Regions from separate parts of the Homo sapiens genome. Here region 2 is linked to region 1. The links are contacts of gene promoters, found by promoter capture Hi-C in blood cells and fetal thymus (Javierre and others, 2016). All regions are on one chromosome and are shown on one strand. Each heading gives the region's core, a stretch centred on a gene start or on the middle of the fragment in contact. The rest is flanking DNA. Distances are from core to core; before and after follow the strand shown. Region 1 holds the start of UNC13A (unc-13 homolog A). Region 2 has its middle 20 kb from the start of CCDC124.

Region 1 (5,640 bases), core at 2,533-5,032:
AGCAGCGGGGCACCACATGAATAAATAAATGAAGCGGGCAGAGATAAGGCCCATACACCATACAGGGTGGTCTGCTATGTGTTGGTGCTGGGTGTATACACAAGAGCTTGCATTTGCCTGTACTTGCTTGGGTATTTGCAGCAGTAGTTGGCTCATCTTACCAGGGCAGGCAGGTGCCTGCCTCTACATGGATATGAGTGTGCATGTGTGCAGAGTATGTGCACCATTTAAGTGCAGGTGGGAGTCTGCACATGTGTGTCTAGGAGTGGGGTGTCACTACATCAGAGACACACTGGTGTGTGTGAGCTTGTGGGTGATATGTTAGGTGGAAAACACACATATTGATGTTTGCATGTGTACATGGATGCAGTTCTGTGGCAGCTGTATTTGTTTATCTGCATACATGTATGCACTTGTGTGCAATGAAATACTCAAATGTGTATTTACTTGTATGCATCATCATCCACTTGTTGAAAGGGGCTGCTTTGAATGTCCAGGCAAGTGTTGTCATGTGCATACACACATGGCTTTGACATGTGCTTATATGAATATATATGTGCTTCATGGGGTTGGGGACCTTAACAGATATGTATGGGTACATGTCTGAGTGTTAGGACATGAGTGAATCTTTTTTTTTGAGACAGAGTCTCACTGTGTTGCCCAGGCTGGAGTACAGTGGCAGGATCTCAGCTCACTGCAACCTCCACCTCCCCTATTCAAGTGATTCTCCTTCCTCAGCCTCCCGAGTAGCTGAGACTACAGGTGCGCGCCACCACACCTGGCTAATTTTTTTTATTTTTTAGCAGTGACAAAGTTTCACCATGTTGGCCAGGCTGGTCTTGAACTCCTGACCTCAAGTGATCTGCCCACCTTGGCCTCCCAAAGTCAAAGTGATGAGATTACAGGCCTGAGCCACCGCGCTCGGCTGGACATGGGTGGATCTTTATGTGACATGTATATTGTGAGCATTCATCAGACACGTGGATACATCTATATGCGTGCTGGCAGACACACACACTCACACGTGTGTTGCTGGGACTATATCTGTAGCGGCAGACTGTGTCCTATATACACGTGTATGCTTGTGTTCACACAGGCATTTGAGTACACACGTGTGCCTACGGAATGTGCCTTCCCAGGCACATGGTCTGCGTAGAGCCTTCATACATCCTAAGCATTTGTGTCCACACAGGAACAAGTCTGGGTATGAATGTGTGTAGGGATTGGCAAACGCCTGTGGGTCCCCGGTGGAGGGGAGGGGGGACAGGTATTTCCTCAGCTGAGCTCAGGCAACACGGCAACCCATCTCAGCCTAGCTTCACTCCTGCCAAGCCCACCCCAACATCTCTCGTGCTCAGCCATCCCAGCCCCTCCCCTCTCTGGGCACCATCCCACCTCTCCCTGGGAGACTGGCCTCACCCAGCACTTCTCCCTCTCCCCACCCCTCCCTGCCTCCTACTCCTCCTCACTCCAACCTCACACCTCCCTTTACACCTGAGGGCCTTACCTCCCACCCCTGTCAACCTCTTCCCCAGCCTTGCCCCTCCCAGCGATTCCTCTCCACTCAGCCGGGCCCCTCCCTGTAAAGTCCACAGAATCCAGCACAGTCCTCCCCCAACGTCTCTGTTTCTGGAAGCCTCATCCCTCTTGCCTCCTGCTGCCCCCCCTTAATGCCACCCCCGCAGCCGAGCCTCCTGTTTGCGTCAGAGTTAAGGGTGAGATCCCCGCCCCCCCCCCCCCCCCCCCACTCCACTAGGCAAACCTTCCAGAGAAGCCCAACTTGGAGGATGTGAGGCGGGGTGGGGCGGGATGCTGGGGGGAGAAGAGAGAGGATAGAGGAGTCAGCCAAGAACACCCACGTCGGAACCTCCTCCAGTGCCACCTTTAAGAGCCCGGCTACTTAGAGCAGGGGGAGAGGTCAGTAGGGGGTCTGGACATTCAAGTTCTCCTCCCATTCCGTCCTCAGGCCTAGGCGGTGGGGGTCGCCTAGGGGTCTCCTTCACTTCCCTACTCCCCTAACTCCATAGGCCTGGAGGCTAGGGGATGGAGGAGTTGACCTTTGACTCTAGGGACCCTTCTTCCACCACCCCCAGCCCCGTCCAGCAGAAACGAGCTTAGAGAAAGTAGGCCCCTGTCCCTTTAAGAACACCCGCGTCCACGCCGGCCCAGCCCGGCCGGATTTGCACTCGGAAGCTGCCGCGGCGGGGAGCGGGCGGGCGGGGCAGGGTTTGTGAATGAATCGGCCGAGGGGGAGGGGAGGGAGGAGGAGGGGCGGCGGGGGCGGTTCCCGGCTCCCCGGCCTGCCCACCCTGTGTCCAGGCAGCAGGAGTTCAGCACACGCACGCTTCCTGTCGCCCGAGGTCTCCCGAAGCCTGCAGTCTCAGGCTTGGCAGACACACCCCTTCCCCCACCCCAGCCTTCTTGAAATGGGTGGGAGTGACGGGGGGACCCCAGTCCTTAAGAACCAGGGGTTCAGAGCTCTGTAGGCGTGGAACGGCGGTCCACATCCACCCCTGCCGCCCAAGGTCTCCCAGAGTTTGATTTCTCAAACGGGAGTGCCCAGAACGCCTGGGTTCGGTTGGGCTGGCTTCCCCACGACCCCAGAGCCATAAAGGTGTGGGGTGGGGGGTCATGCCCCTCCCACGTCTCCCTCCCTCCTCCAACCCCAACGCAGAGCGTGGGCCTGGGCGTGGGCCTCTGTGCAGATGGCGTTCTGGCCCCAAAATAGCTCCCCCCCCACCTCACGTCTCCCTCCCTCCCTCTCTCCAGTGCAAAGTGGGTGAGGTGAGGATGGGCCAGGAGGGGGACCAGGAGACATTGCTCTTCCAAGAAGTAGGCTCCCTGCCGAGAAGGCCCTGAAACGTGTTTGGGAGAACCGGAGGGGGCAGGGAGCGGGAAGACCTTCTGGACATTCCTCCAACCCCCTCACTCGGGAGGCCAAAGAGTTAACTGGAAAAGCGCCCCCAGACCTCCAGTCACAGCCCTCTCTGGACGCTGGGAGGGGTCTCCTGTCTCCACACTCCCCCCACTCCAGTCCTCTTTACACCTAGGGCTGGGAGAGTCCTAGAACTCGTGGATGCCCTGATGGCCAAGCCCCTCTACCTATATCTTACATCCCCACGGCTTGGAGAACCCTCCCACCGCACTCTCCTTCGAATTTCCAGCCGGGTCCGCGTCCATGAGGACCCGTAACCCAGCCCACAACACCAGACCCCTTCCAAGCACCCCTGCAGGCTTCAATCAAACTACCGAGCCCAGACTCTTCCTCACTGACCCTCTAAAAACCTGGTCTACACAGACGCCCCAGTCTAGATCGTTTCCGGGTAGAACCCCGGATACCCGTCCACGTCCACACGGGCCTCCGCGTTCAGCCGCGTCCACACGACCCCTCCAGCAGCGGCCACCAGGACCCCCGAGAGCCCTGCCGCGTCTACACGGATCACCCCCTCCGGGGCCCAGCTGCGTCGACAAGGGCTACCCCTCTCAAAAGTCCAGCCACCTGGACTCGGGTCACCCCCCAGGAACCCCCTGGGAGCCGCATCCACGCGGACCCCGACCCCAGCCCGCGTCCACACGGGTCCCCCGACCCCCAGCCTCGCCTCCTACCTCCAACGCAAAGCAGAGACATGTCTCCGAGCTCGCAGGTGGGCCGGAGGCGGCCGGGCCGGCTCTGTCGGGTCGGGCTCAGCGGCCGCTGGGCTGGGGCATCTCCCGGCTGCAGCCCGCGCTTGGCTCACGCCGGGGCCCGGCCGCCACCGGCCATCTTGGTTCAGCACCGGGGGCGCGGACAGCGCCTGACGTGGCGCTGATGCGGGGCGGGCAGGCGGAGCCCAGGGACGCCTGATGGGGCGGGGGCGCTGCGGGCTGGGGGGGCGTTAAAGGGCCTGGCTCCGGGAAGGGGCGCCTCGCCCCACACCTCCTCGTTGCAGGGGGACAAGGGGCGACGGCGGCCCCCAAGCAGGTTTCCTCCTGTGCAGACCCTCACCTGCACTGAAATGGTGCACGTGCCCCCGCCACCCATGCATGGACATTCCTGCCCTGGTAACCTGGGCAAACGCCTCCCTGCAATACTCAAGCAAGTACAGGCAAATGCAAGCTCTTGTGTGTACGCCCGGCACCAGCACCGGGCAGATGGTCCTGTTCTCTGAGTATCTCTCTTCCTCTGTCTCTACGTCTCTGTCTCTCTAACTCTACTGCCTGGTCTCTTTCTCTCCCTGGGTCTCTGTTCCTCTGACTCTGTCCACTGCTCTCTCAGTCATGTGTCTCTTAGCCTCTCTCTGTAAAGTCTTTTTGCAGCTCTACTGCATCCTGTCTAGGTCTCTCTCTATGTCTCTAAGCCATCCAGCCCATGGGTCCTTGCCCACACTCTGAACTCCTTTTCATCCATCAATGTCTTGTCTGAATATCCTCTCCTCCAGGAAGGCTTCCCTGACTGCCCCAAGCTGAGCCTTTGTTTCTCCTCTCTGGACTCCCCCAGCCCCTATCCCTTCCTCTGATTGGGCCCTGACCCGAACGAAACTCTGCCACTCCTCCCCACTTTTCTTTTTTTTAGATGGAGTCTCCCTCTGCAGCCCAGGCTGGAATGCAGTGACGCAATCTTGGCTCACTGCAACCTCTGCCTCCTGGGATCAAGAGATTCTCCTGCCTCAGCCTCCCCGAGTAGCTGGGACTACAGGCGCATGCCACCATGCCCAGCTTTTTTTTTTTATTTTATTTTTTTTATTTTTAGTAGAGACGAGGTTTCACCATGTTGGCCAGCCTGGTCTTGAACACTTGACCTCAGGGGATCCGCCCATCTCGGCCTCCCAAAGTGCTGGGATTCAGACCTGAGCCACTGCGCCTGGCCCCCTCCCCACATATCAAACTGGGCAGCTCCATGTGGGCCCCTTGCCCTGCAACCTGCTCGCTGTATCACTGGCACCTAAACTAGCATGAAAGGCTGAGCCCCACAGGGTCTCCTGCCCCCAGCCCACATGAAAGAGCTTCATAAATGCAGAATGTGCATGGAGTTGAGTGAGGCCATTGTTCAAAACCAAACTCTGTCTCTCATCACAAGCATGGCCTTGGGCAGGTCTTGTGACCTCCTCGTGCCTCAGTTTCCGCACCTGTAGAATGAATATGATAACAAGTCCTGCCTCACAAGGTTGCTGGAGGTATTACATGAGTTAACATGTGAAACCAGTTGTAATTTTTTTTTTTTTGGAGGTGTAGTCTCAATCTGTGGCCCAGGCTGGAGTGCAGTGGCACCATCTCAGTTCACTGCAACCTCAACCTCCAAGTGATCTTCCTGCCTCAGCCTCCTGAGTAGCTGGGATTACAGGCGCTCGCCACCACATCCAGCTAATTTTTTTGTATTTTTTGTAGAGATGGGGTTTCACCATGTTGGCCAGGCTGGTCTCAAACTCCTGACCTCAAGTGATCCACCCACCGTGGCCTCCCAAAATGCTGGGATTACACGAATGAGCCACCGCGCCTGGCCCCAGTTGTAATCTTAATGCCTAATAGTAACCATGTTTGTATCTGTCACTGCTTTAAATTTTTAAAAAAATCAGCACAGCTAATTTTTGTATTTTTTGTAGAGACAGAGTTTCACCATGTCGCACAGGCTGTCTCAAACTCCTGGGCTCAAGTGATCCTCCC
Region 2 (6,065 bases), core at 2,726-5,225, 230 kb after region 1:
CCAGGCCCACCTGGGGCACAGCACGGCAAGGATGGAAGGTCTCCCCTACATCCTATTCTCCCCAGAGCCAGGTCTGAGACGGGCTGGGATTGAGGATCATCCCAAAACTGGTGGCTCTCAGGAGGTAGCTCACCTCATGCCACCTACCCCACCAAGATGGAATCTTTTTTTTTTTTTTTTTTTGAGACAGACTCTTGCTCTGTCACCCAGGCTGGAGTGCAGTAGCATATTCTTGGCTCACTGCAACCTCCGTCTCCCGGGTTCAAGCGATTCTCCTGCCTCAGCCTCCCGAGTAGCTGGGATTACAGGCACCCGCCACCACACCCAGCTAATTTTCATATTTTTAGTAGAGACAAGGTTTCGCCATGTTGGCCAGTCTGGTCTTGAACTCCTGACCTCAAGTGATCTGCCCACCTAGGCCTTCCAAAATGCTGGGATTATAGGCGTGAGCCACCACTCCTGGCCTAAGGATGGAATCTTGATGAAATTGCTGTGTGGCCTGCAGCCAGTCGCTGCCCCTCTCTGGGTCATCCACGTTGCTTTCTCCAAGTCCTGACCTGGCAATGGATTGTTCAAGGAGCTGGTCAAATCCACAGTTGCCCCAGCAATGCAGAGCCCTCAAACATGAAAAAAAAAAATCTAGACAGAAAGATTTTTTTTTTTCTTAGAAAAATGAGCCAGGTGCAGTGCCTCACGCCTGTAATCCCACCACTTTGGGAGGTGGGGCGATCATCTGAGCCCAGGAGTTTGAGACCAGCCTGGGCAACATGGTGAAACTGCATCTCTACAAAAAATACAAATATTAGCCTGGTATGGTGATGCATGCCTGTGGTCCCAGCTACACAGGAGGCTGAGGTGGGAGGATCGCCCGAGCCTGGGAAGTTGAGGCTGCAGTGAGTTGTGATCATGCTACTGCACTTCAGCCTGGGTGATGGGAGTGAGACCCTGCCTCAAAAATCTAAAAAAAGAAAAAAAAAGAATATTAGATTACAAAATTCACATTACTGTGGAAATTGCTTTTGCCCTTCCAAAACAAATCATAAAACATGTTTCCTGGTGAATACATACAAATCTTACTAAATCTTCTTTTGAATACATATAAATCTTATTAAATCTTCTTTTAATTTATTTTTTTAAATTTGGCTTTTCTTTTTTCTTTTTAATCACAAAATAATTTCAAGAGCCAATTTGTCCTGGAGGCCTTGTTATGAAAATCTGCAGACCCCTGCGGCTCTCATGTTTGACGAAATCAAGAAAAACATTAACACAATCGTTGCAGAAGGGTGACCAATGCGGTTGCTTTGCGGCTGAGTATTGGTTTTATTTCAAAACACAATGTAAGAGGAACAAACAAAACACACATCCCACTCAACACCACACTTCTGACACCAGATGTGTGGGTTGTCTTTATTTTTTCCACATAGTAAGCAATTCTCCAGTGGACACCAGCTGGGATTCCTCTGATGCAATTTGGTTCCGATGCTATCTACTCGGACACAGCATCAGATCCCGCAGGTTAAGGGCTCAATCCCACAAAACAGCCCGCCTTGAGACACAATGGTCTCTATAGAGTGGGATACCCCACCCTTGCAACCTGCAGATGTGTTCATCAACTCGGAAGCTCTTCAAACCCCATCTTTTGGGGATTTTTATGGGGGCTTCATTATGAAGGCATGATTGATTATTAACTCAGTCCCTAGCCCCTCTCCGGTCTCCAGAGAAAGAGGGTGGGGCTGAAAGCTCCAAGCTTCTAATGATGGCTTGGTCTTGTTGGTCCCCACCCAGGAACCCACCAAGAGTCATCTTTTTAGAACCAAAGACGCTCCTATCACCCAGGAAACTCTAGGGGATTTAGGAGCTCTATGTCAGACACTCCCATCACTCTGTCAGGAACTGGGGTCAAAAGACCAAATATTTATTTATTTATTTATTTATTATTATTTTGAGACGGAGTCTCGTTCTGTTGTCAGGCTGGAGCGCAGTGGTGCGATCTCAGCTCACTGCAGCCTCCGCCTCCTGGGTTCAAGCGATTCTCCTGCCTCAGCCTACCGAGTAGCTGGGACTACAGGTGTGCGCCACAGGCCTGGCTAATGTTTGTATTTTTAGTAGAGATGAGGTTTTGTTATGTTGGCCACCCTGGTCTCAAACTCCTGGCCTCAAGTGATCTGCCCACTTCCACCTCCCAAAGTGCTGGGATTACAGGCATGAGCCACCCTGCCCAGACTATTTATTTTTATTTTTAAACTTTTCTTTAGAAAAAGAATCTTGCTGTGTTGCCCAGGGTGGAGTGCAGTGGGGAGATGTTGATTCACTGCAGCCTCAAACTCTCAGGCTCAATCAATCCTCCCACCTCAGCCTCCCGAGTAGCTGGGACTATAGGCACACACCACCATGCCCAGCTAATTTTTTATCTTTTGTAGAGACAGCAACTCACTAAGTTGCCCAGGCTGGTCTTGAACTCCTGGGCTGAAGCAATCCTCCTGCTTCAGCCTCCCAAAGTGCTGGGATTATAGGCATGAGCCACCACACCCAGCCCCATGCCCTGTTTTTCACTGGTGCATATTTTCTACCAGAAATGAGAGTTTTAGGTATGAATGAAGACTAGTCTGTGTGAAAACCTGTAATTGTGCTTTTGAAAAAAGATCTCCAGGTCTTCACAAAACTTTTTATTCCCTGAGGATGCCCCACTGCAAACGCCTGTGAAGCTGGAGTGCCAGACACTGAGGCCTGAGGCTGGGGGACACAGAGGCTACCAGCTTGCTTGGACCTCCTCAATCTGTCAAAGAAACTGGCTTGGGGACCACTGGAGGACCCAAATCTCCCTCTTCTCTGGGCAGTGGGTCTTGTGCATGCTGGCCTTGGACCTACTGAAGGCCCTTCCAGCCCCAGTGCTATTCTCTGAATTCATGGGGAGCAGAGGTGTTGGGACTGAGTCCTGTTGGAGACTCCAGAAACACTGACGTTTCTTGTTTGGTCCTGGGGTTAGGTAACGACGGCTGTTTCTTTTTTTCTTTCTTTCTTTCTTTTTTTTTTTTTTTTTTTTGAGGTGGAGTCTTGCTCTGTCACACGGGCTAGAATACAGTGGTGTGATCTTGGCTCACTGCAACCTCCACCCCCTGGGTTCAAGCGATTCTCCTGCCTCAGCCTCTCGAGTAACTGGGATTACAGGCATGCACCACTACCCCCAGCTAATTTTGTATTTTTAGTAGAGATGGGATTTCTCCATGTTGGTCAGGTTAATCTCAAACTCCTGAGCTCAGGTGATCCACCCACCTCGGCCTCCCAAAGTGCTGGGATTACAGGTGTGAGCCACCACACCTGGCCAGCAATTTATTTTTAGTCAGTTGTGGACTATCCTGGGTGGCTCCTGCCTAGATTATTCTAAGAATTTCTTTTTTCTTTTTTTTTTATTTTAAGACAAGGTCTTACTCTGTCGCCCAGGCTGGAGTGCAGTGATGTGATCTTGGCTCATTGCAACCTCCACCTCCCCAGTTCAAGCAATTCTCCTGCCTCAGCCTCCCAAGTAGCTGGGATTACAGGCACCTGCCACCGTACCCAGCTAAGTTTTGTATTTTTAGTAGGGACGGCATTTCACCATGGTGGCCAGGCTGGTCTTGAACTGCTCATCTCAGGTGATCCACCCACCTCGGCCTCCCAAAGTGCTGGGATTACATGCTTGAACCACCGGCGCCTGGCCTATTCTAAGAATTTCACCATTTGGACAGCTATTAGCCAGCTTTGGTTGGTCATGTGGGTCCCCACTGCATTCAACTCAGTCCTAGCCTGATCTTCAGTTTCCAACAATATCATAATATCATTGAGATAGTGTATTATTACACTTAAGATCTGCACCAAGTCCAAATCCCACTTCTGACACCAAAAGTAAAAAGAAAACATAAATTAATTTTTTTTTCTGCTCACACATCACTCAACACAACATTCCTTTCTTTTCTTTTTTCTTTTTTGAGACGGAGTCTCATTCTGTCACCCAGGCTGTAGTGCAATGGCGTGATCTCTGCTCACTGCAACCTTCTGCCTCCCGGGTTCAAACGATTCGCCTACCTCGGCCTCCCGTGTAGCTGGGACTACAGGTATGCACCACCATGCCCAGCTAACTTTTGTATTTTTAGTAGAGATGGAGTTTCACCATGTTGCCCAGGCTGGTCTCGAACTCCTGACCTCAGGTGATCTGCCAGCCTCAGACTCCCAAAGTGCTGGGATTACAGGCATGAGCCACTGTGCCCAGCCTTAACACAACATTTCTGACACCAGATGTATGGGAACTTTTCCAAACGTCAAGTAATTCTCCAGCAGACACCAGCTGGGTGGGGTTTTTTGTTTGATTTTTTTGTCTTTTTATTTTTTTAGGTGGGTGTTTTTAAATTCAATTCAGTTCAGAAGCTATCTACCTGAAGATAGTATCAGATCCCATAGGTTAAGGGCTCAGTCCCACAAGATGGTCCCTACTGCAGATGCCATCTGCAAACAGTAGGTTTTCACCTGTACTTCTAATGCACTGGCTGTAAATCAAGACTCCCTTAGGCTGGGCACAGAGTCCCCTCCTGTAATCCCAGCACTTTGGGAGGCCAAGGTGGGAAGATCACTTGAGCTCAGGAGTTTGAGACCAGCCTGGGCAACATGGTGAAACCCCATCTTTACAAAAAATACAAAAAATTAGCTGGGCATAGTGGTGTGCACCTGTGGTCCCAGTTACTTAGGAGGCTGAAATGGGAGAATCGCTTGAGCCCAGGAGGTGGAGGTTGCCGTGAGCCAAGATCGCATCATTGCACTCCAGGCTGGGCAACAGAGCAAGACCCCATCTTAAAAAAAAATGGTGGCTGGCCGCAGTGGCTCATGGTTGTAATCCCAGCACTTTGGGAGGCCAAGGTGGGCAGATCACCTGAGGTCAGGAGTTCAAGACCCGTCTCTACTAAAAATACAAAAATTAGCTGGGTGTGGTGGCATGTGCCTGTAATCCCAGCTACTCAGGAGGCTGAGACAGAAGAATCACTTGAACCCAGGAGGCGGAGGTTGCAGTGAGCCGAGATTGCACCATTGCACTCCAGCCTGGGCAACAAGAGTGAAAATGTCATCTCAAAAACATTTTTTTAAGTACTATTTTTTTAAAGAAGTGGGGGTGGCCAGGTGCAGTGGTTCACACCTGTAATCCCAGCACTTTGGGAGGCCAAGGTGGGAGAATCAGTCAAGCTCAGGAATTCAAGACCAGATAGCACAACATGGTGAAACCCTATCTCTACAAAAAAATACAAAAAAATAGCCAGCTGTTGGAGGCACACACCTGAGGTCCCTGCTACATAGGAGGCTGAGGTGGGAGGATTGCTTGAGCCTGGGAGATGGACACTGCAGTGAGCCAAGATCACCCCAGCACTCCAGCCTCGGTGATAGAACAAGACCCTGCTAAAAAAAAAAAAAAAAAAAAAAAAAGGTGGCTAGGCACAGTGGCTCATGCCTGTAATCTCAGCACTTTGGGAGGCTGAGGCAGGTGATCACCTGAGGTCAGGAGTTTGAGACCAGCCTGGCCAACATAGTGAAACCCCGTCTCTACTAAAAAAAAACTTAGCCGGGCATGGTGGCACACATCTGTAATCCCAGCTACCTGGGAGGCTGAGGCAGGAGAATTGCTTGAACCCAAGAGGTGGAGGTTGCAGTGAGCCAAGATTGCGCCATTGCACTCCGCCCTGGGCAAAAAGAGTGAAACTCCATCTCAAAAAAAGAAAAAGAAAACAATAATACTCACACCTGTAATCCCAGCACTTTGGGAGCCTGAAGCGGGCGGATCACCTGAAGTCAGGAGTTCAAGACCAGCCTGACCAACATGGAGAAATCTCGTCTCTACCAAAAATACACAATTAGCCGGGTGTGGTGGCACATGCCTGTAATCCCAGCTACTCAGGAGGCTGAGGCAGGAGAGTCGCTTGAACCTGGGAGGTGGAGGTTGCAGTGAGCCAAGATTGCACCACTGTATTCCAGCCTGGGCAACAAGAGCGAAACTCCATCTCAAAATAATAATAATAATAAAAAAAGATTCAGGTGAACAGCCAGAT

What was found. The method cuts DNA at HindIII sites, captures the fragments that hold promoters and counts their contacts. A CHiCAGO score of 5 or more calls a contact.
Region 2: a contact is called between a fragment that was not itself captured here and the fragment with the promoter of UNC13A in region 1, in 10 of 17 cell types (naive CD8 T cells, activated CD4 T cells, M1 macrophages and 7 more). The highest score is 9.4, in naive CD8 T cells.

Annotation. Positions count from the first base shown.
Region 1 is chr19:17,684,572-17,690,211 of GRCh38, forward strand. It overlaps UNC13A (unc-13 homolog A), which reads right to left and starts at 3,783. Exons shown (of 44, transcript NM_001080421.3): 1 at 3,607-3,783. The coding sequence starts at 3,628. RefSeq lists enhancers at 1,963-2,924, 2,925-3,885 and a silencer at 3,119-3,301. The HindIII fragment of the contact is 13,980 bases long and covers 1-5,640 here.
Region 2 is chr19:17,909,650-17,915,714 of GRCh38, forward strand. No RefSeq gene overlaps it. Among named protein-coding and RNA genes, the nearest start is that of CCDC124, 20 kb to the right of the region's middle. The HindIII fragment of the contact is 4,460 bases long and covers 1,746-6,065 here.